Linked DNA regions of Homo sapiens: regions 2, 3 and 4 are each linked to region 1. Evidence: promoter capture Hi-C in 16 types of primary human blood cells and fetal thymus (Javierre and others, 2016). All regions are on one chromosome and are shown on one strand. Each heading gives the region's core, a stretch centred on a gene start or on the middle of the fragment in contact. The rest is flanking DNA. Distances are from core to core; before and after follow the strand shown.

Evidence for each region. The method cuts DNA at HindIII sites, captures the fragments that hold promoters and counts their contacts. A CHiCAGO score of 5 or more calls a contact.
Region 2: a fragment that was not itself captured here is called in contact with the fragment with the promoter of GJA5 in region 1 in 4 of 17 cell types (total CD8 T cells, total B cells, total CD4 T cells and 1 more); the score reaches 6.6 in total CD8 T cells.
Region 3: a contact is called between a fragment that was not itself captured here and the fragment with the promoter of GJA5 in region 1, in 1 of 17 cell types (total B cells). The highest score is 5.7, in total B cells.
Region 4: a contact is called between a fragment that was not itself captured here and the fragment with the promoter of GJA5 in region 1, in 4 of 17 cell types (megakaryocytes, endothelial precursors, naive B cells and 1 more). The highest score is 7.9, in megakaryocytes.

The regions. Positions count from the first base shown.
Region 1 is chr1:147,758,426-147,764,132 of GRCh38, reverse strand. GJA5 (gap junction protein alpha 5) reads left to right here and starts at 3,531. Exons shown (of 2, transcript NM_181703.4): 1 at 3,531-3,634; 2 at 4,862-5,707. The coding sequence starts at 4,895. The region is part of intron 1 of LOC102723321 (a long non-coding RNA gene); the gene reads right to left. RefSeq lists a silencer at 5,458-5,707. The HindIII fragment of the contact is 9,872 bases long and covers 1-5,707 here.
Region 2 is chr1:147,509,025-147,514,731 of GRCh38, reverse strand. LINC00624 (long intergenic non-protein coding RNA 624) reads left to right here. Exons shown (of 4, transcript NR_038423.2): 3 at 284-394. Among named protein-coding and RNA genes, the nearest start is that of LINC00624, 6.0 kb to the left of the region's middle. RefSeq lists an enhancer at 4,013-4,671. The HindIII fragment of the contact is 1,663 bases long and covers 2,745-4,407 here.
Region 3 is chr1:147,526,895-147,532,601 of GRCh38, reverse strand. No RefSeq gene overlaps it. Among named protein-coding and RNA genes, the nearest start is that of BCL9, 12 kb to the left of the region's middle. The HindIII fragment of the contact is 153 bases long and covers 3,393-3,545 here.
Region 4 is chr1:147,885,343-147,891,049 of GRCh38, reverse strand. No RefSeq gene overlaps it. Among named protein-coding and RNA genes, the nearest start is that of GJA8, 15 kb to the left of the region's middle. The HindIII fragment of the contact is 7,221 bases long and covers 1-5,707 here.

The DNA of each region.
Region 1 (5,707 bases), core at 2,282-4,781:
GGGACCACGAGAAGGAGCACTGGGCCGGGCATGGTGGGTCATGCCTGTAATCCCAGCACTTTGGGAGGCCAAGGCGGGAGGATCAACTGAGGTCAGGAATTTGAGACCAGCCTGGCCAACATGGTGAAACCCCTTCTCTACTAAAAATACAAAAACTAACCAGGTGTGGTGGCACACACCTGTAATCCCAGCTACTCCAGAGGCTAAGGCAGGGAGAATTGCTTGAAACTGGGAGGCAGAGGTTGCAGTGAGCTGAGATGGTGCCACTGCACTCCAGCCTGGGTGACAAAGCGAGACTTCATCTCAAAAAAGAAAAAAAGAAGCACTGGATTCAGAATGTAGGTGCCTGAGCTTTATTTCTGGTCATTGGCCATACAGTACATGAAATAAAATCATAAAATGATTCATGCTCACTATACACAAAATCCTTCCTCTGGCCCTCTTCCTCTTATCTAAGCACCATGTTGCTATTGCCAAACAAGTTTCCTAGTGGCCCCTCCAAAATTTGCTTTATCTCAGGATAGGACAAGTTGAAAGAGGATGTTGAAGGTTTGGGAGTGAAGAACCTTTAGAGTTGGGATGGTTCTCTTCCAGGTTCTAGGGACCATCTCTTTTTGCCTTGCTGATTTCAGAACTTGTATCAGTGGCAGAGGGCTTTAGAACGCAATTCCCTAGGACTCTCCCCAAAACCCAAAAACCAGATTCAGGCTCCTGCCCCACATTCCCATGACACCTTATACTTCCTTTATGTTAACACACATTGTGTTTTACTGAAATCATGTATTTAATGTCTGCTGTTAATAAAGGGGTATAAAGGCAGTTACACTCAGTGAAGTCAGGGAATCCCTTGTTTGTTTCCCCTCCTTCCTGCTGTATCCTCATTGTCCAGAATGATGGCTGGCACCCTGTAGCCACTCAATAAACGTATTAAATGAATTTTAAAAAGGACATTCTAGGCAGAGGGAACATAAGAAGCCAAGATAAATGGGTGAGAAATGGTGAGATGCACATAAGTACATGTGAAATTGTGTAGCTTAAGTATTGAGTGTGTGAGTGGAAAAGTGGAAAAATGATAGCATAAGACTGTACAGGGTTTCACATGGCAAGTTAAGCAGTTTGGACTTTCTAAGTGGTAGGAAGCCAGTGAGGATAACTGCTAAAGCAGTGAGGTAAATTGCCATTGTGTTTGATAGCATTTATTCATGGCATGGGCAGCTTCCTTTGCCCCTCCTAATACACTTCCTGCCAAGAAGCAGATAATAATCTACAAAGTATTTTATATGCTATACGCCCAGTAAACTCACTGAGTATCTAATCTACAAATTTCTTTGGCTGAGATGGGGTATCCAAAGGGAGCCAACGTAGCTGGAAAAGTAACTACAGCCAGAGACCTTTCACATTATAAACTGAGCATCTGGTACATGGTAGCTATTTTAAGTTTCTCTGACCTTGCCTGAGCGTCAGCAGGAAGTCATACATGAAAAACCCTTCACCCTATTTCCTCTGCCTGGGCCCAGGAGGTCTGCCTCACCCCTATACCTCCTCAGATAGTTTCTCTTTTTCCCTCCCAATAAGATATCCTTCCTAATACTGCCTTTCTGGTTTTCCAAGGTGTTCCTTTCTTGTATCTGTGCTTTACCTCTTCCAGGTGGAATTCCTTGGACAGCAGTGAAGGAGTCAGCAGTCAAGCCTCTTGGCAGACTAGACCAAAGGGTCACATTCTTTGCCTGGAACTATTTTTATACTTCCTTGGGGACTTGCAAGGAATGAGTGACAGAGTGAGAAGATCAAGGGAGAAGTCTTCAGGGACTGAGTGTGGAAAACTTGCCCCAAATCCTGGAAGAATATGACATTTGTTTCTTTTTTTTTCTATTTCCATTTTCCTCTCATTTCCTCCCCTTCTACTCTTGCTCCCATTTCTTTTCTCCTTTGTAATGCACCTTTCTCTACTTTCTGCTTTCTCTTTTTCCCTCCTTCTTCTACTCTCATCCTTCCCCACTGCTCTTGTTGCTAGTAATGGCTACCTTTTATTCAGTTCTTATTTGCTGAACACTGTGTTAAGTGCTTTGCACGCATCATCTCATAGCACTCTATGAGTTAATAGTATGTCCATTTTGCAGGTGAGGAAAGTGGAACACAGATTGAATCATTTATCTAAGCCCAGCAGATGGTAATAGAAATTTGTCAAACCTCAGTAAGCTAACTCCTGCATCTGTCTTTTCTTAACCCTACATGGTCTTTTTCTCCATTTCCAACTCTCCCTTGTCCTTCCCTTTTCTTCTCTTCTTTTTATTCCTCCCCTTCTCTCCCTCCCTCTTTTTCTCAGACATTTACCATAGTTCAGTCACTGCACGTGTGTGGCTGACCCTGAAGGTGCTGAACACTGTACATGTGCCCAGAAGAGAGGACAGACAATTCAAACTCTTATCTAATCAGCCATTTTCCTTTTGAGCACATGCTCCACAATTTTCCACATTTGGAGGCTGAAAGAGGGGGCGCTTCGCCACCTAAGGAAATGGGGCAGATGTCTGATCACAAATGACAGGAAAGGCCTCAAGACCTGCATGGGTCTTTGATATAGAGAGGAGCAGAGATAAGATGCTTTCCGCTCACTCAGGAACTCCCTCATTCCCAGGGACACTGTATACTCTCAAGTTTGGGGACCTGGGGTCTGAGAGAATACAGGGCCAGGAGGTTGGTCCCTGTCAAGGCAACAATCAACTCAAGAGCTGAGGAAGCCTGGACTATGAAATGCACCACCCTGACCCCATCTTTCCCCATAAGCATGAAGAATGTTCAGACAGAAACCAGGAGCACGTTGGCAGCAAAGATATGACGGTCAAAGTTTGAATTTGACAAACCTCTAAGGACCCACCCAAATCTGAGGTTTATGATTCTAAGAAAGGAATATTTATGCTCCATTCCCTCCGAGACGTTTGTCATCCTGTTGGTTAGGAATGGTTAGAGGCTTAAACTGTAAGAACATTCGTTATTCACTAAGTAAGAATTCTGGAGGTAGGGAGCCTCAAGAGTTGCTTCAGAGGCCTCAGGGCACTGGTTGACATTTCTGAGATTCTCTGGACAGCTTTAGACATCTTGGTTCATACAACTCTGTCCACAGGCAGGAAGCGGTGGGGCTAAGTGAGGCTCACTCCTATTCACCGGGGGATGGGAGCACTGTGAGTAGTCTCCCTCCTGTTCACCAGGGGATGGGAGCACTGTGAGTGAGGTTCCCTCTTGTTCACAGGGGGATGGGAGCACTGTGAGTGAGGCTCTCTCCATTTACTGGGGGGTAGAAAAACCTTTTCTGGAGCATTCCCTCTACTTTAGATTCTCCCCATACCTCACCTACCAGAACTAACTGCAGAGGAGATTAAGAAAGTGATACCTGGCTTTTTCACCCTGCCAATGGGAGGCAGGCAAGAAACAGGGAATTGGTTTTCTATTGGGTAGGAAACAACAGTGCCTGTCAGCCCCTCCTTCATTCACTCAACTAAGATATATTAAACACCTACTCTGGGCCAGGCTCTGGTGATACAGAAGAAAAGACAGTCTCCATTTTCAAACAGTCCCTCCTGGGAGAACACAGACAGGCAGAGGATTACAACACAAGGCAGCAAGCACTGGGAGACGAGTAAGTGTCCCGGGGGCCATCACAGGAGCTGAAGAGGCTCAGCTTGAGGGAGGAGGGAGGGCTGGAGGAGGCAATGACTGGGTTAAGTTTTGAAAGGTAAATGGGATTCAGCTAGGGGTGAGGGGACATGTAGGGGTACAGAAGGAGGGCATTTGGGAAGACTTGGCATGGCTGGACAAAAGGAACTCATGTGGACAGGCAGGAACAGGCTGGAAAAGCAGACAAAGGCCAGATGAGGGAGGATTTTGTAAGGGACATAAAGTTTTGGGACATTTATTCTGGACATAAGGGTGGGCAGATCTGTGTGTGGGAACCTTATTTAAATGAGACACAGAAACTTAGCAGCAGGGCGAGCTGAGCTGTGTGGCTGGAATGGCTGTGTTGCACCGAGGCATGGGAGATCAACATTGCCTTACCAGCCAGGGGAAGTGAGCACTCATCTGTGATACTGTTAGCTGGTGTGACCAAAGCACACTTTTTGTTTGCCACCTCCCAACACAGCTGGTCCATGCTGGATGGTTCTGATTTTTGCAGAGTGCTTCCTGAGGGGCCAAATTTGCCAATCCCATCCTCACTCTTTCCTCCTCCACCTAGTTCTGCCCTCTGGAGCCATAAAAAAATTCCTTTTCCATCCAACAGCCATTTAAACATTTGGAACAGTTGTGGAATGATTTTCAGAATATCACACACCTCATATCATTTAATCCTCAGAATTCTCTGGTGTAGCTATTCCCATCCCCATTCGATAAATGAAGAAACAGACTCAGTGAGGTAAATGCCCAGAGTCACATTTGCAGACCCCAGTCTTGTGTTCTTTTTAATACTCGTGTTTCTCCAGGTGCGGTCCCTCACCGCCTGCATCAGAATTACTTGGGCTGCTTGTTGTAAATCCAGATTCCTGGGGGCCATCCCAGACCTCCTGAAGTAGAATTACTGGGGCAAGAGCAGAATCCATATTGTAACACACACCACGATTTCTAGATCCGTTAAAGTGTGGGAGCCATGCTCTAATTTTGCTAATATGGCTACTTTGAATCTTCTCTTTCTTTTTATTTTTGCTGGGAAAGGAGAGCGAGCTTTTCGTTGGTTGCTTTGACTTCTAAGTTGCATTTTCTTAAAGAACCCATTGGATGGATGGATCAGTGGAATCCCAGAACATGATAGACATTCCAGACCTTCACAGAACATCCTTCTTCTTTTCTCTCTTTCTCTCTCTCCCATTTGCAGAAGTTTTGGCATCTGTTCCCTGGCTGTGCCAAGATGGGCGATTGGAGCTTCCTGGGAAATTTCCTGGAGGAAGTACACAAGCACTCGACCGTGGTAGGCAAGGTCTGGCTCACTGTCCTCTTCATATTCCGTATGCTCGTGCTGGGCACAGCTGCTGAGTCTTCCTGGGGGGATGAGCAGGCTGATTTCCGGTGTGATACGATTCAGCCTGGCTGCCAGAATGTCTGCTACGACCAGGCTTTCCCCATCTCCCACATTCGCTACTGGGTGCTGCAGATCATCTTCGTCTCCACGCCCTCTCTGGTGTACATGGGCCACGCCATGCACACTGTGCGCATGCAGGAGAAGCGCAAGCTACGGGAGGCCGAGAGGGCCAAAGAGGTCCGGGGCTCTGGCTCTTACGAGTACCCGGTGGCAGAGAAGGCAGAACTGTCCTGCTGGGAGGAAGGGAATGGAAGGATTGCCCTCCAGGGCACTCTGCTCAACACCTATGTGTGCAGCATCCTGATCCGCACCACCATGGAGGTGGGCTTCATTGTGGGCCAGTACTTCATCTACGGAATCTTCCTGACCACCCTGCATGTCTGCCGCAGGAGTCCCTGTCCCCACCCGGTCAACTGTTACGTATCCCGGCCCACAGAGAAGAATGTCTTCATTGTCTTTATGCTGGCTGTGGCTGCACTGTCCCTCCTCCTTAGCCTGGCTGAACTCTACCACCTGGGCTGGAAGAAGATCAGACAGCGATTTGTCAAACCGCGGCAGCACATGGCTAAGTGCCAGCTTTCTGGCCCCTCTGTGGGCATAGTCCAGAGCTGCACACCACCCCCCGACTTTAATCAGTGCCTG
Region 2 (5,707 bases), core at 2,327-4,826, 250 kb after region 1:
TAAAACACAATAAAAATAAATTATTAGAAAAATGAAATGAAAAAACTCCCATAGACTTATGAAATGCAAGCTCAACTTTTTATTATTAGATTTAACAGACATAAAATTGGATGCTGGGGCAAGGTCAAATTCCTATTTAAAGATTTCCAAATGCATATTTTGTTTCTATGCTTTGTTTCTGCACACTGGAACAGTGGTGGATTCCACTGGTCCTTGGACCACACTTTGAGTAGCACTGACTAAGTGACCAGCTCTGACAGTATGGTGATTTTTTGTTTTCCAGGAGCTGACACTCCCTCAGGCTACCTTAGTCAGTGGGGGCTTACTGCAGCATACCTGTGGCGATGAGAGAGAGAGGCACATCACAGGAGCATCTGGCACCAGTGGCATCCTGGTGAGTGAAATGTCATATGGACACTGGAAGGATCTAACACTGAGGTGGCCCTTCATCTCTGTGCTGTTCACCACGAGCATGCCTGGGCTGCTCTTCTGTGTTCTTCCTGATGTTTCTCATGATACTGATTGATTTTTGGAATTTCCCAGTTCGTATTCCCAAGAGAACCCATTGCCCTATTTAATCATCACTTCTGTTGCTGCAGAACTTTGTGCAGTACTGGGATTGCTTGCTGCCTTAATGTCAGGAGTTGGCCAGGCATCCAGTCAAAGGGCAGAGTAGGCTCTTGTGGTATCGAAATGGCCACCCTCCTTCAAGGAGCAGCAGGTCCTCTTCCTCAGCACAGAAGGCAATGGTGAGGAAGAGGCTAATTTTCCTTTGAAGAGGATTTTGAGAAAAGGTTGGCCCATCTAAAATATTTTACAATTCTCTGTTCCCAAACCCTGAATAATCCTTGGAGGTCACTCACTGTGCAGGAGGCTGAAGAAGGGTAACACTGTCAAAACTGCAGACACAGACCCTTCTGGCTCCACCTCTATCCTACCCTAGAGCTAGGTTAAAGAGAGACTCTGGAGAACTTACTCATACCCAGTGGGGTACTTCTACATTTCTCTAAAGTCAGGAGACACTTTCCCTTTGTGAATATTTATACTTCTGAAGACATTTGCAAATCTTTAAACTCTTGGTTAAACAATAGTTTATACTGTCCCCCTATAATTCAGAAAAGCATAACTTCAAAAGAATGATGACAAACTTGGCCGGGTGTGGTGGCTGATGCCTGTAATCCCAGCACTTTGGGAGGCCGAGGCGGGCGGATCACCTGAGGTCAGGAGTTTGAGATTAGCCTACCCAACATGGCGAAACCCCGTCTCTACTAAACATATAAAAAATTAGCCAGGCATGGTGGCGGGCACCTGTAATCCCAGCTACTGGGGAGGCTGTGGCAGGAGAATCACTTGAACCTGGGAGGTGGAGCTTGCAGTTAGCCGAGATAACGCCACTGCACTCCAGCCTGGGCGACAAGAGTGAAACTCCGTCTCAAAAAAAAAAAAAAAAAGACAAACTCAATGAAACACATAGAACAATCAAGGTGTACAGAGATGTAGACAGTGGTAGTGAACAATTCTCTACCCAAAGCTGAAGGAGAGTCATTGCCCACCATAAGTCAATCCAAATCTGAGAAAATTACAACTTAACCCCTTTACTTTAAGGGTTGCCCATGAATAGTCATAGCTAGTTATGTCAAATCCTTAAATGCTGGAGTCCGTGTTTACATCTTTACCCATATCCTTTCATCTATTTCATTTCATACCAAAATGAACAGACCCATTACATGTTTAGATTTTCTAGGCTTGTCCACATCTCCCATATAAAAGATGTAATGTGTATAAAGTGCTTAATACAATGTCTGCTGCATAGTAAGCACTCCATAAATGTTAACTCTGACATACATATATATTAAATCTATACTAGCTAGATTGCTTGAATTATTTTTTGTGCATGTGGCTGTATTGATGCCTGCTTAGGTAATAGCCATCTTCATTATTCAATATGATTCTGGTTTCCTCTGAAGTTTAGTGAGGTGTGGTTTTTCTGTGATGTTCTCCTCCACTAGTTTTCAAGCTCATCTTGGAAGGTCTTTTACAACCTCGATAACGCCCTGCAGTTATTAGTATCAAGAATGCTCTGTACACTGTGGGCACCCAGCACATGCTGCTGGCTGGCTGACTGATTTACTATGCCTCCCCCTTGCCCATTATAAGCTTTCATCACTGCAAATGTAAGAACCTTCTTTTCTACATCTCCTGCCATCCAGAACAGTCTTCATAGATCTCCCTGCCTCATTGACTCATCACCTCATTTCACCCTTTCTTCCTTTTTCTGGACCTTCTAACTTTTTCTCCCCAGATTACCATTTTTTTTTTCACTCAGCATGCACACATTATCTAGTTTTGGAAAATACTCCCTATTTGCTCCTATATCTTAATTTGGCTGTCCCCATTTCTATGCTGCCTACTAGTATAAATGAGACAATAGCTCAAAGAACAATTTGTAAAAAATGAAAAACTCTGTGCAGACTTTCAGGGAAATTAAACACATACTTTAGACCAGGAGCTCAATCTATGGGTAAGAAAGCTTCCTTAGCTGTCTTCTCTATGAAGCTGTGATTGGGTGAATGTTTTTAAAGGAACTCTCTGAATATGAAAGGGGGTTGGGGTGGGATGAAGCCTTGGCCATCTGGATGAGAAAGATTCAGATGCTGAAACAGATCTCTGGAGTTAATGAATTTCACAGTCCTTTGCCCTTACTTTGCTTGTCTCAGTCTAGAAACAGACACCTGGTGTAAGCTTGTTAAATGGCAGGAATAAGTAAGAAGTGAAAAAGAGCTAAAGCAAACTTCTTTGCAAACTGCTCTCCTTGTGAAACTAAGCAGGTAGTTCTATGAGTGACGGTAACTCACATAGCCTCTTGGCTTTGTGTTGAACATAGCACCAAAGTTCACAAGCATTTACACACCTGCAGTTTTTTTTCTTTTTTTGTAGATCAGGTCTGGCCTAATTACAGGATTTCATTGTATTTTTATACATATAATAATCTAGTTTCCCCTGTAAATGATTCATTTACAATTCAATTAAACAGCCAAGGAGAACCAAATGTTAAACATGTTTTTAAATAAGATACAATGTGTGTAATTAGACAGAACACATACCCCTATCTTAGTGTTTGATTTGCGTGATAATACAAAATAGGTCATTTGAGGCTATGCCAAATATCAGGGATTAGATGACCTTTAAGTTCCTGTCAAGCTGGAGAGTCTATGATTTTGTGATCTGAGTGAAAAATGAAAAATTTAGTGCATCATCGAAATGTTTACAAGAATCCAGCTGTTTGATGTCAGGTAGACAAAACACCCAGACAACTGACAGAGATGCTTCATTTTCATCCAGATGTTTTTGCATTGCATTGATTTAGCCTGACACACAGCAAAGTTAAGTCACTTACTCAAGATTTCTGACAAAACCTTCTGAATATACTGGCAATAAAGTTGTTGAGAGATTTGCCATTTTAGTATCAGTGGCACGAATGTTTTGCTACTGCTCCATCGACAGCTTCTGAATCCATAAGATTTGAAAATAGTCAATTCAGTTCTCTCCACTCTGCAGCTCTGTGCTCTCCTCACTGTCTCCATTCCCCACACCCCCAAAGGTCTATCTTAACCTGAGCTCTGACCCATGACAAAGTGGTCTCCTCGATCACAGGGCTGTGTATGTGGCCTTTGTCATGGAAGCTGCTTCTGTTCACAGTGATCACTGTGTCTTGGGGACATTGCTGTCTGGGCCAAGGGCTGGCCAAATCAGAATTTCTGGCCATCCTAAAGGTTGATTGCAGCAGGCAGTCATAGCCACCATTCATCCTCCCATTATCATGGTCAATAATACCACTCATCTAGGCTTGGCTGTGATTCAGGGACCTGGCTGAGGTGACTGATGCTGACCAAAAGTCATTTTTTTTTTTTGAGATGGAGTCTCGCTCTGTCACCCAGGCTGGGGTGCAGTGGTATGATCTCGGCTCACTGCAAGCTCCGCCTCCCGGGTTCACACCATTCTCCTGCCTCAGCCTCCCGACTAGCTGGGACTACAGACACCCGACACCACGCCAGGCTAATTTTTTGTATTATTAGTAGAGACGGGGTTTCACTGTGTTAGCCAGGATGGTTTTGATCTCCTGACCTCGTGATCCACCTGCCTCAGCCTCCCAAAGTGCTGGGATTACAGGCATGAGCCACTGCACCCGGCCCTGACCAAAAGTCTTATCCACACACCTGTAAATCTAAACACTGACCTTGGGTTTGCAGCTGTAGCTACTATATGGAGAGCCATATGTGGTTTGCACATCAGTCTCTTTGACTCAGCTTCTTCTGGTTGCCTTGACTCCCATTGAATCCCCCAGTGCCTGATTGCTGCCCATCCCAGGCCCATCTGGTAACCCTCATGCTCCAAATGTTGCAAGCTTGACCACTTAGTTTGAAATTGTGCTTCAAAGGCATCTTCCTCTGTGATCCTTCCCGGCTTCTTTTCCCCAGGCACCCTGCAGCCTCACTTTCTTTATCACTGCCTCTTTCTGGCTCTCTGCACAGGCCCCGTTGCTGCCAGTCAAGCCCTGCCTGAATCTGGATAGTATGGCCTTGCATGCCCAGAGGGCTTTTGCTCCACCAAATCCCCTATGCGACCTTGAGCAAATCACAACACTTCCCTGGGCCCCACTGTCCTAATCTTAACATGAGAATGTTGGACTAAATCAGGTCTGAGGTCCCCTCCAGTTCTAAAATTGTATTATCTCTCTAATACTGTGAGACTGGCTGCCTTCCAAGGTGCCACTGCTCATCATTCTGTCTAGTTGTTATGCAAGGATTTCGGGAGGAAAAAAACATAAGGCTCCAGGAGTAATATCTTGAAAAATTATGAAATATGTCTGCTACCTTTCTCATCTTCATGAGCCCCTTGTTTTACTTTTGTGTTGAATTTAAAACTCAGAGACTTAAACTCACACATTATGACAGTTCTGTCACTTCCTTAAATTACGCAGTAAAAACACACAAAGGTGCAGGTAAGTTTAGCACCTTGAGTGTTTTGTAAGCAATGCTGTGTTGGGCTGAGGATGGGGGTGTGTGGTAGAAAGAGGTGCTGCAACAGAAGCCAGAAGGGAAGAAGAGCCTATAGGGGAGAGAGACATTAAGGGCCTGAGGGAAGGGAAGGTGCCTGAGCTCAGGGACTGTAAAGGAGGACTGTTCACCTTGAATGTCCAATCAGCACTTTCTCTGGAATTTAGATAATGTTAATTCCACATGTGAACATATTGCCTAAAAAAAAGAAAATAAATTTAGCGTATAAACAGTCCTTGGATGCTTCCAGTGGTTAGATTTTTCAGATAAACAATCTCCTATGGTATTAAGAGCTTGTCCTTCTCTGGCAAGGATGGTCCAGGACAGATAACATTGAGTGCTTTCCTCTAACATATTTATATTGGTTACATCAGGTTAATGAACACCCAAGGCATTTTTCAAGAAGTCACAAAGGGGGTGAGTCTGAGGAGCAGGTGTTGAAGTAGAAAGGAAGGCCCGTCTACACACTCTTTATGTGAGTGAATCAGAGGTTTTTGCTGTTGCAATTGTGGTTGTTTTTATAAGTTGAAACCACTAGCTGATACAGTGATTGACTTTCCCAAATATCCCTGGTGATGATTAAAAAAAAAAATCACTGAGATTATCCCCGATTTGGGCCTCTAAACTCAGGGATGGTTCTGGATAAGCAA
Region 3 (5,707 bases), core at 2,220-4,719, 230 kb after region 1:
TAAAAGAATATTTCATGGCACCTGAAAATTATAGGAAATTCAAATATCAATCTCCATAAAGTTGTATTGGGGTTGGGCATGGTGGCTGACACCTGTAATCCCAACGTTTTGGTAGGCAGAGGTGGGAGGATCACTTGAAGCTAGGAGTTCAAGACCAGCCTGGGCAACATAGTAAGACCTCATTTCTACAAAAAAATTAAAAATTAGCCAGGCATGGTGGTGCATGCCTGTAGTCCCAGCTACTCAGGAGGCTGAGGCAAGAGGATGGTTTGAGCCCAGGAGTTCCAGGTTACAGGGAGCTATGATGGCACGACTGTACTTGACAACAGAGTAAGACCTTGTCTCAAAAAAAAAAGTTTTATTGGAACATGGCCACTCTCATTTATTCACATATTGTCTATGGTTGCTTTTGCACTACAACCACAGCATTAAGTAGCTGCAACGGAGACCGTATGGTCTGCAAAGCTTAAACTGTTTTTGTCTGGTCCTTCACATAAAAAAGGTTGCTGACCTGGCTGGGCTCAGTGGCTCACGCCTGTTATCCCAGCACTTTGAGAGGCCGAGGCAGGTGGATCACCTGAGGTCAGGAGTTCGAGACCAACCTGGCCAACATGGTGAAACCCCGTCTCTACTAAAAGTACAAAAAATTTGCCAGGCGTGGTGGTGGGTGCCTGTAATCCCAGCTACTCAGGAGGCTGAGGCAGGAGAATTGCTTGAACCCGGGAGATGGAGGTTGCAGTGAGTCGAGATCGCACCATTGCACTCCAGCCTGGGTGACAAGAGTGAAACTCAGTCTCAAAAAGAAAAAAAGGTTGCTGACCCATCCACCCATTCAGAGGTTTCCTCTGAACATTTGGGAGGTGGAGATGCAACCTTAGAAGAAATATAATAGAAACAAAACCATGTATCAATAAGTACTTTGTAAGATTATTTTAAGAATCATCCATAATATTTGCTGGGCGCGGTGGCTCACGCCTGTAATCCCAGCACTTTGGGAGGCCGAGGCAGGTGGATCACCTGAGGTCGGGAGTTCGAGACCAGCCTGACCAACATGGAGAAATCCCGTCTCTACTAAAAATACAAAATTAGCTGGGCGTGGTGGCACATGCCTGTAATCCCAGCTACTAGGGAGGCTGAGGCAGGAGAATCGCTTGAACCTGGGAGGTGGAGGTTGCAGTGAGCTGAGATCGCGCCACTGCACTGCAGCCTGGGCAACAAGAGAGAAACTCCATCTACAAAAAAAAAAAAAAAAAAAAGATCATCCAACAATTATTTGTCAAATGAGTAAAGACATGTAAAATAGTGTATATGTTTTGGATCTCATAGAATGTATATATAGATATACATATATCTAGTCTGAAAAGTATGCAATAAGCTATCAATATGGATTATTTCTTTTTTCTTTCTTTTTTTTTTTTTTTGTAGATGGAGTCTCATTCAGTCACCCAGGCTGGAGTGCAATGACACAGTCTTGACTCACTGCAACCTCCACCTCCCAGGTTCAAGCGATTCTCCTGCCTCAGCCTCCCAGGTAGCTGGGACTACAGGCGCATGCCACCATGCCCGGCTAATTTTTGTATTTTTAGTAGAGACAGGGTTTTGCCATGTTGGTCAGGCTGGTCTTGAACTCCTGACCTCAAGTGATCCACCCGCCTCAGCCTCCCAAAGTGCTGGGATTACAGGCATGAGCCACCACGCCTGGCCAATATGGGTTACTTCTGACATGTGGATCTTGGAGAATTTTATTTATTAAAAAATAATATAAATAATAACCACTTTATATGGACTGCTTACTATGTGCAGAGCACTGTGTTCATTGCCTTATGTGTATCGCATCTTATTTAAATTTCCCAAGAACTCTAGATGTTAGAACTATCATTGCTCTCTTTTAACAAATAAGAAAACTGAGGCACAGAAAAGTTAAATAAGACCACCCAGTGAGTATTAGAAGAACCAGAAAGTAAACATAGACAGTCTGCTGTGCTTTTAAGTGACTGAATATAGGGCATGGGTCAGTAACTATTAATATAGGGAATGGGTCAGTAACTATTTTATGTGCTTCCTCTCTTTCTAGTGCACCACACTTGGACTTTTTATATTATGCATTTCTTGTTAGAATTTTTAAACACTGGTTACTTTTGTAATCAGGAAAAAATATACTTAAAAATACCTAATATGGTTACTGGCACACAGTGAAGGTGGTGATAATGAGAAAGAGGAGGAGGAGGAGGATGACAGCTTACATTTGTTGACTTCTTCCTATGATCCAGATTTTGGCACAATGTACCAGGCACCTTACATGCTAGTTTAATTGAGGAGGCATTAGATAAATTATTATTGTTGTTATTATTCCTGTCACTATCAGGTGTTTCTTAGAGCCCCAGAGATAGGCTGGGGCTGTGTGGATCTGGGATGGAGCATGTCATCTCAAGTCTCTAGCCCAAGGGTTAGGAAGAAGTTGTTCCTAATACTTCCAGCCCTCCCTTGCAATTTCAGGTGGTCAGAATATGACTGGGTGGACCAGATGACTGCGGGCTTGAGTGACACAGAGTTCTAAATCTGGTTCCAGAATGTATTAGCTCTGTGGCCTTGCTGTAGTTCTTACGTTGTCACAGTTGGATATATTTATCCCATTTTCCCAATCCCACCTTGCCTAGCAGGGCAACAGGTATTCAAGACCACTGGGAAGGCCCTGCTGTCCCACTGGCAGGCCTCCCATAGCCTAAGAGCCTCTCATGAAACATTCATTTCCTTGGGTTAAAGCTCTGCCAGGGAGAGGTGACATATTAAGCCACTGACACCGTGGCAATTTAATTTCATGGAATCACAAGATGTTAGAGCTGGGAGTCACCTAGCATCTAAAGCCTCATTATTCTTGCATCTAAACCTATCTTTTCCTTTTTCCATCTACAGTGGGAGAGGTGTCCCTGCTCCTGTCTAAGCGAATCCTTCTCCTTGCACTGTGGATCCCACCTGCCATTATTCCCTCTCTTTCCCACACTGGCACCACTGCGCGCCTCTCTCCATCAGTATTTAAATAAGCTCATACACTCAGCTGTCTCTTAACTTCTCAGTCAAGCTTCTTTTTTTCTTTTTTTTTGAGACAGATTCTTGGTCTGTCGCCCAGGCTGGAGTGCAGTGGTGCAATGTCGGCTCACTGCAACCTCCCCCTCCTGATTCAAGTGGTTCTCCTGCCTCAACCTCCCAAGTAGCTGCGACTACAGGTGCCCGCCACCATGCCCAGCTAATTTTTTTGTATTTTTAGTAGAGATGAGGTTTCACCATGTTGGCCAGGCTGCTCTTGGACTCCTGACCTTATGATCTACCCGCCTCGGCCTCCCAAAGTGCTGGGGTTACAGGCATAAGCCACCACGTCCGGCCTCAGTCAAGCTTCTCTGAGATTTGCCTGTAAACTTTGAGGGGCAAATGGGAGAGCTCTGGGTATTTAGGACAAGCCTATGTTTAGGGGAGCCTGGGTCGCTTGGAGGAGGAAGAGTGAGTGACACAGAAGTTGGTTGAGAAATGAAGGAGGGAAAGTGGAAGCTTCCTGTGGACAATCTACTGTCTTCCTAATTTTACCTAAAACCAATACTAAGTTTTCACAACAATTAATAAATTATATTGGGTTTGGGTACCTGCTCTGAGTATGCTAGCTAAGTCCTGTGGGAGATACAGCCCAGTACCTACAACATAACTGCCTTTGATATGTTCACAGCTGCATCTGGATACTCAGTTACAGTATCAGCACAGGGCAGTGCATGATTAAGGCTAAACGAATGGTACAGGTTAGTGGTTCCCAAACAAGAAGCATCAGCAAGAGTCATTTGGGAACTTGTTAGCAAGGTAAATTCTCAGGCCGTGGCCCAGACCTACTGAATCAGAAACTCTGAGAGTCCTGGAAACCTGTGTTTTCAAATGCCCCCTGAGTGATTCTGATGCATGCTAGGGTTTGAGAACTGCTGGTACAGGCAATAAGAACCACTGTAGGCTGGAGTTTCAGGTCAGACTTATAGGGCATTTGGCACTTAAATTTGATTCTGATCAGTGGAGTAGAGCAAAGGGTAGAGAGTGATCAAGAAAGAGTAAACCAGATGAACAAATGTATAGATATTGGGTTGCATAAGCTAGAGAAAAGGTGGAGGGAGGGTGCTGAGTGGGGCAGAAAGAGGAGCGGCCTGGCCTGGTTGACGTGGAGATGCCTGCAGAGGATGATGGTGAGGGCAGGAAGCCTTGACTACTAGCTATCATCTGGGGAAATAGAAACCTCTTCTGTGTCTCTCCATAGAGAAGGCTCCACCTACCACATCTAAGTTCTTTCTTTCCTTTACCTTCACAGGCATTCTCTTCCAGTCTCTCATCTCCAGAGGTGAGGATCACCCCTCTCCTTTGACGTTCACAGCTCTGATCCAGGATGGCATTTCTTTTCCTGCCTCCCCCGTCAGTACTTCCTCCTTCTTCCTCTGAATCCACCCCCTCACTACTGCTGCAGATGAAAAATTATAAACCACTCTTGAAAAACTGTTCCTAGAGAGGATACACGATTTGAACAAGTTCCTATTCAAAGCGTCAGGGGAGCGACACCTGCCTCTTAAATTCTGACAGCGTATACCAGGGATTCATTAGGCAGGAACAGAGGATGGTTTTTGGAGTGGGCTTTCTACTGTGCCTCTACAGTTAAGTTACACAGGGACCTTGCAGAAGGCTCAATGTGTTATGATTGGAAGCAGCTCTCTGTGGGAAATCCCTTCCAAAGCCCAGAGGAATCCTTTAAGGTGGTGCAGACTTGTTTCCCAGTGGGATCTTCTCTGAAGACAGAGCCTCCAAATGCACGTTTAGGCTCTGATGTTTAGAGCACCTTATTCCCGAGAGGCAGCCTGGTGTTGTGGGATGTGCAGCAGGTGATGAATGTACTGGAGGAAGGGATTATTTTTTCTCCTAAAGGTTTTTATTGGAAGACCAAGGTGTTAAGCCTGAGCTCTTCTATTTGCTAGCCAGATGATTTTGCCTCATTGAGCTAACTTCTCTTGGTTGCCCTATCTGTAAAATGGGGCTAGTAAGGCCAACTTGCAGAGGCACTGTGAGGATCAAATGAGCGGTCAAAGTGCACTGTAAGTTACGCAGTCCTGCACAACCCTGCCGTTACTGCAATAGTCTCTAAGTTGGTCTGCCTGTTCCCCTGTCCTCTCCCTCCTCCATTAGACCTTGTCCAGTGCTGTGAACTGGTTTTCCCAAAATATGATTTTAATTAAATGGCAGGGTAATATTCAAGATATTATTAATATTTCCCACCTCTGCTTCATCTCCCAACATTCCTTTTCATCTTTCATCCTATATCCATCAGGTAATATGAGGGACAAAGCAAAGAGACAAGTGCTTGTGAATCCAGGGGTTCCAGCCCTTCACCACTTCCAGACCAGGAAAGATCTCGCAACCCTCACGAGGTGCTGTGGCTGGGGCCCTTGTGGAGCAGACCTACAGGATGAGGATGTCCCAGGGGCACGAGGGGGAAAGTGGTCAAGGACCAGCTCCCTTCCCCAGTGTCCGCTAAGCCCCCCAGAACTTGGTCTTCACCCTGAGCATGGGGGACTGGACCATCCATACTGAGGTGTTGCTTTCACCAGAGACTGGAGGGAAGGTTGGAAATAAAGTTCCATGTCAGTTCTTGGATATTTTAGTTTGAGGCTTGACATTTGAAAGGCTGTTACTG
Region 4 (5,707 bases), core at 1,067-3,566, 130 kb before region 1:
GAGAGACAGTGCAGAAGGATGACTGTTTGCCTGCCCAGGCTCCAGGGACAGCAGGGAGTGACTGACAGGGGTGCTGTAGGCTCGATGCCCCAATCTGGGCTTTTGGGATTGAGGCCCAGACCTTTATCCACTCAACAAAATTAATTCCCTGCCTCCTCCACCCACCCTAGGCTTGACAGCAATTCTCTGGTCCTTTCTTTCCGTTGCCTGAAGAGGTGACTTAGTATTCCTTAGGGTACATATGTGATGGTGTTTGGTTTGAGAGGTTTATTTAAAAAAAATATTTTGGGGGGATTTAAGATGAATGAAAATCATTCTGCTTCAACTTGGCAGAATGGACTGAAATGGAAACAAAGACAGCACAACTCTTTTCTTCTCTAGCCCTGATGTGCTGATTTACTAAACCAGGAGTTTTCTTGCAGGGGCAACCTGTTTTCAAAACACACTGCAGACAGGTCTAGCTTAGCTGACCTGTGTGAACATCAATGGGGAGGGTAGAAGGAACAGGGTGATGGCATTCGGGGATCTCACCATTCTGACAAGACACAAGTCATTCAACAGCCAGAGGTTCTGAGGACAGCATTTCCACTCCCACGGGGTGCCCCTGTCTGGGCAGCCCAGGACAGCGTCCGGAATACCGCAGAGCTTGGCCCTGCGCCACGAGGGGGCGATGCCGTCTCTCTTTTGCTCCACGCACTGTAGTAGACGCCTTCAGAGCCTGAGGGCAAAGAAAAGAGGCTTACTCCAAGTCTGCAAAGGAGAGTCAAGTGAACTCTTTTTTTCCACACGGGAAAAGATGGATATGGTCTAAATGGGAGGGGCTGGGAGGACAGGAAATGCAAAGGGGGACAACCTTGGCTTTAATTTTACTGTATAACCACACTCTCTGGGCCGGTTTCCTGGTGCCTTCCCTTTCACCCTGTTTAGTGATCATTATACTGGTGGCACTGGATGCCCCAGAGGGTATCCCTCTTTTTCTCCTCTTACTTTTCTTCCTATTCAGAAGTCCCTTTTATCACGGAAATATTTGCCCTGTCTCCCACAGCACCACAAATCCAGAATCACCAACCCGAGGGTTTCAAGATTCTTTGCTCTATCCCCTCCCTTCTCTCAGACCTGTCCTTATTTCCTTTGGTCCTGCACAATTCTACTGTATCCCTGATTGTACCAGGGGCAATATTTGATGATAAAGGGCAGAGTAAATTGTAGAGCATTAGGTTCATGTGATGACAAAGCAAAGGGCAAAACTTCAGCAGATGGCAGGCCTTGATCACTGGAGACAAACATTCTGGGGCCTTTCTGGTTAGGGCAATGGAGAACCCATTCTAAGAGTTATGGCTGAGATTGTGTGAATTTAACTCACCCACCTGCAAATCAGAGACAGACTTGGCTACAGGAAGCCTCTGTTGCTAGGGGCAGAATTGGGGAGCTTTTGGGACCTTCTCTCTTGTGAGTTGTCCATGGCCTGGGCTTGCACTCCAAAAGCCTCCTGGCTAATTGAAATCCACTGGTACAGCTTGCATCAACAAAGACTCCAGGCTCCTACTCAGGAGTTCATTTTGCCCTTGGCCTACCTGTAAACCCATTAGAGTGGAGAGTGCAGAGGAATTTCTCTCCCCACTAGGTCCAGCAAACACATTTTCATGTCCTTGTAAACGATGAGGGAGTCTTCCATGGAAGACTGTAGGTAGAGCCATCACTGGCTTTCACAACATGGTTTAGTATTTTTGTTGTCAGTCTCTATAATCTGGCTATAATTCTATAATTCTGGCTCAGAATCTATCACTTACTAGCTCTGTGATAGGTGGCAAATTAACCCTTTTAAATCTCATTTTTATCATCTGTAGATGGAGATGATTATTATGAGAACTTAATGAGATAATCTATGTTAAAGTACTCGGCCCAATTGCTGGCACATAAATGGTTGTTATCATTATCTTGAAATGCAGTGGAGTATAAAGGCTAAGCCAGCTGACTCAAATCTGAGCTCTACCACTTACCGTCAGTGTGAGCTCAGGAAAACCATTTGATTTCTATATGCCTCAGTCTTCTCAGATGTAAAATGCAATTTATTTATTTGAGACAGGGCCTCTCTCCTGTTATCCAGGCTGGAGTGCAGTGGCACAATCATAGCTCACTGTAACCTTGAAGTCCTGGGCTCAGGTGATCCTCCTGCTTCAGCCTTCTGAGTAGCTAGGACTACAGGCATGTGCCACCATGCCCAGCTAATTAGAAAAAAAAAATCTGTAGAGACAAGGTCTGGCTGTGTTGCCCAGGTTGGTCTCAGGCTCCTGGCCTCAAGTGATCCTCCCACCCCAGCCTCCCAAAGCACGGGGATTATAGGCATGAGCCACCATGCCTGGCTAAAAATGAAGTTTAATAATCACAGCTATGTCACAGGGTACTTAGGACTGAATAGATAATGTATGCAGTGCACTGAAAACAGTTCTTGGCATATGCTGAGTACTCAAAGAAGGCTGGTCATCACTGCCTATAAAGCTGTGGTTTGGATTATCCAAAAGTTACCTGCATTTTGCTCTAGAATACTAAGATGCGTGTTTTAGTTAGCAGGAGAATTATTTTCTTATTTGACTTAGTTTGCAGTAAGGTGAATCTGTATTTGTTACTTGTACAACTGGTTAATGCTGGGGCTGGGGCTTAGAACATGGCTGAGGGAGACTGGTTAGAGATGCAAGATGTGCCACAGAGAGTCCAGAAAACAGATCACTTTGAGGCACTTGCATGGCATCTTTTCACTAGTGCTCCTGTATAGTTTATCTTTTACTACATATCAGTTTAGAAAGAAAGATTTTATTGTCAAACCAATTTTGCAGGTAGAAGAGTAGGTGAAAGAGACAGATTACGTGCCCTGCCCAAAGGTCACAAAAGCAGGATCTATATCCACATGGCAGTTGCATTTAAAAATAAAAATTAATCAAAGTAGCTTTTGGCTCTGCCTGACAGGACAAGTCATAGACAGTGTATTTAATGTGTCATTAGACGGTGTTGGCAGCCTTCGTCACAGCTGCAGTGAATCTGGGGTAACACCAGGAATACAGCACCTCTCTGATTATTTATTTTTAGAGTCTCCAACAAGAAAATTTTAAGAAAAGAAAAAAGAAATCATTGTGGGTAGGAATCAGGAGAGAGTAGTCAGGAAAAATCTGAAATTTTCCTAAAATTTGAAAAATATATATTATGAATTCTAGGTCCTGGGCCATTTAAGCCAGTCTCTAAATCATATGGTTATCTTATAGGAGGAGAATCTTGGACAATAAAAAGATCAGAATGAGGGTGATGTGCTATAAATCTTCCTAAAAAAGCAAGAAGAATTAATTTGGAGAAACAACCCATTAGGGTTGACAACTGTTTAAGTAAAACTGATGACATGAAACTGGAAAGAAAATAGTCCGCTAACTTCTTAAATGGGAAGATGATTCATTAGCAGTGAGGGTTAGGGGTGTCTGTAGTCCTTTTCTGATTATCTATGAAGTAGTAACCTGGATTAGCCAAAAAGAGATTTGCTTTTGACTCTGAAAAATGTCATGATATTTGTTTTGGCAGTAGATAAATTTTTGAACTAGACCTGTTAGCTCAATTGTAAATATTTCATTAGAGAGTGATGGGCATATGAATGCTACAGCTTCTTTTCATTCAACAAATATTTATTGAGTACCTACTACGTGCCAGGCACTGGGCTAGGAGCTGGAAATACAATGCTGAACTAGTTAGACATGGTCCTTGTCCTCCTGGAGATAGACACTGAAGAAATAATACACGTGAGCAATCATTATCATCTAATTAATAATCATCACAATGGGCCAGGCGTGGTGGCTCATGCCTGTAATCCCAGCACTTTGGGAGGCTGAGGTGGGCAGATCACCTGAGGTCAGGAGTTCAAGACCACCTTGGCCGACATGGTGAAACCCCTTCTCTACAAAATACAAAAATTAGCCAGGCATGACGGCCAGTGAATGTAATCCCAGCTACGTGGGAGGCTGAGGCAGGAGAATCACTTGAACCCAGGAGGCAGAGGTTGCAGTGAGCCAAGATCGTGCCATTGCACTCCAGCCTGGGCAACAGAGTGAGACTCTGTCTCAAAAAAAAAAAAAAAAAAAAAAGTCATCATCGTCATCACAATGAAGACATATACAGAGTGCTAAATATGGGTATAATGAAGAGTTGGCCTTGCCCAGGAGGTGAGAAATATGAAAGCCCTTTGAAAACTGTGAAGTGCTAACTAAGGCTTTGTCTGGATTCATCTGGATTGTGGTTAGTCTCTGAATGGGCACAAGATTGCTCCTGTGTAATGCCTGGGGTGCTGTTTCTGCCTGAACTTTCTCTCTTGAAGGAGGCCAATTTCTTTCTCAAAATTCTACCTGGTGAGTGGGAAAGGCCCAGGAGTGGGTGGGAATAGGTTGAGAAATGCTTCTATCAGTTGCTGGAGCACAGAGACCAGTTCATATTTATGAGTTCATCATCTATTTTGGTTGGAAATCTCACAAAAAAATAAGAAAGCACAACTTCTTGACCAAAATTATGAGCAGAAAGGTCTGCTACTGTCCATCACTCATACTTTCAGGAATTGACACAATGCATTTCTCATTCACCAGTTCTATGCTAACAGTTAGGCATATGCAGATGTGAACACCAACATTATTACAAAACTTGAAGATCCCTTTTAAAATAGTCATAACTTATTAAATGTACATTATAAGGCTGGCACCTTTATATACATCATTTCACTTCATCATTATTAAAGCCCTATAAAGTAACTCTTTTATTCCTGTTTTACAGATTTGGGAATGCAGTTAAATATATTATTCACTTGCTCAAGGTCATAATGCTAAGAAGTGGTAGAATCAAGATTTATATCCAGGCCCAAATTTGAAGTTTATAACTTGCATTTTTTCCATTACATGGTACGTGTCTTTTGGTTAGAGTTAGAGACAGCAGCTGGACTTCAAGAGTTTGGTAACATTACTTACTTTCTCTTACTAAAGAAATGGGGTTGGGGGGAGGAAAGAGTCTACAACTGAGCTTTAAATTGGGGATTAGTGGAAGCATATTTTATAACATTTTAAGTTCAATGTCTTTTATTGGGTTGGCCTTGAAATGAAAGTCTAGGAAATAAGATGTCTGCTCTGAGATGGGGGTGGAAGATCCTGTACTTTCACATGCCTGTTAAAATTAGAGATGAAATATAATCAGTTGATGGAGGGCTTGGATAAAATAAACTGAGACACATAACTGGCAAATATGAAAGTGCATGAAAGGGACCAAGACCCAGAAGATCGTAGAGAAAAGAGACGCATATCTCATTGCCAAGCTGGAGTTATTTCTGTTTAGAGACACCAAAGTTCTCCCTAAAACTTTTCCCTTAGTCTTGGTAATGTGAAACTCTGGGGGGGTCATTCCTACAAATTCTGCCCCCTTTGTGATCCCCTGTATAATTAGATCCATCCTTTTTAAGGAAGAGGACCTGGCAGATATGTTTCATGGTTTATACGTAATCCAGTTCCTTTCATGCTTCCTGCTGTAAACTTTTGCCTGTACATTGTATTTTTGAGACCCTACTGCAATCATTCCCAGGGTCGGAATGATCACAACCAGCTGACCAGACCAGTTAGCTGCTGTTTGGTTAACTGTTCAAGTAGATTGGAAGAAGAGGCAGTGAAAGAACTGGGCAGTGAGAGCAAGGTAAGGA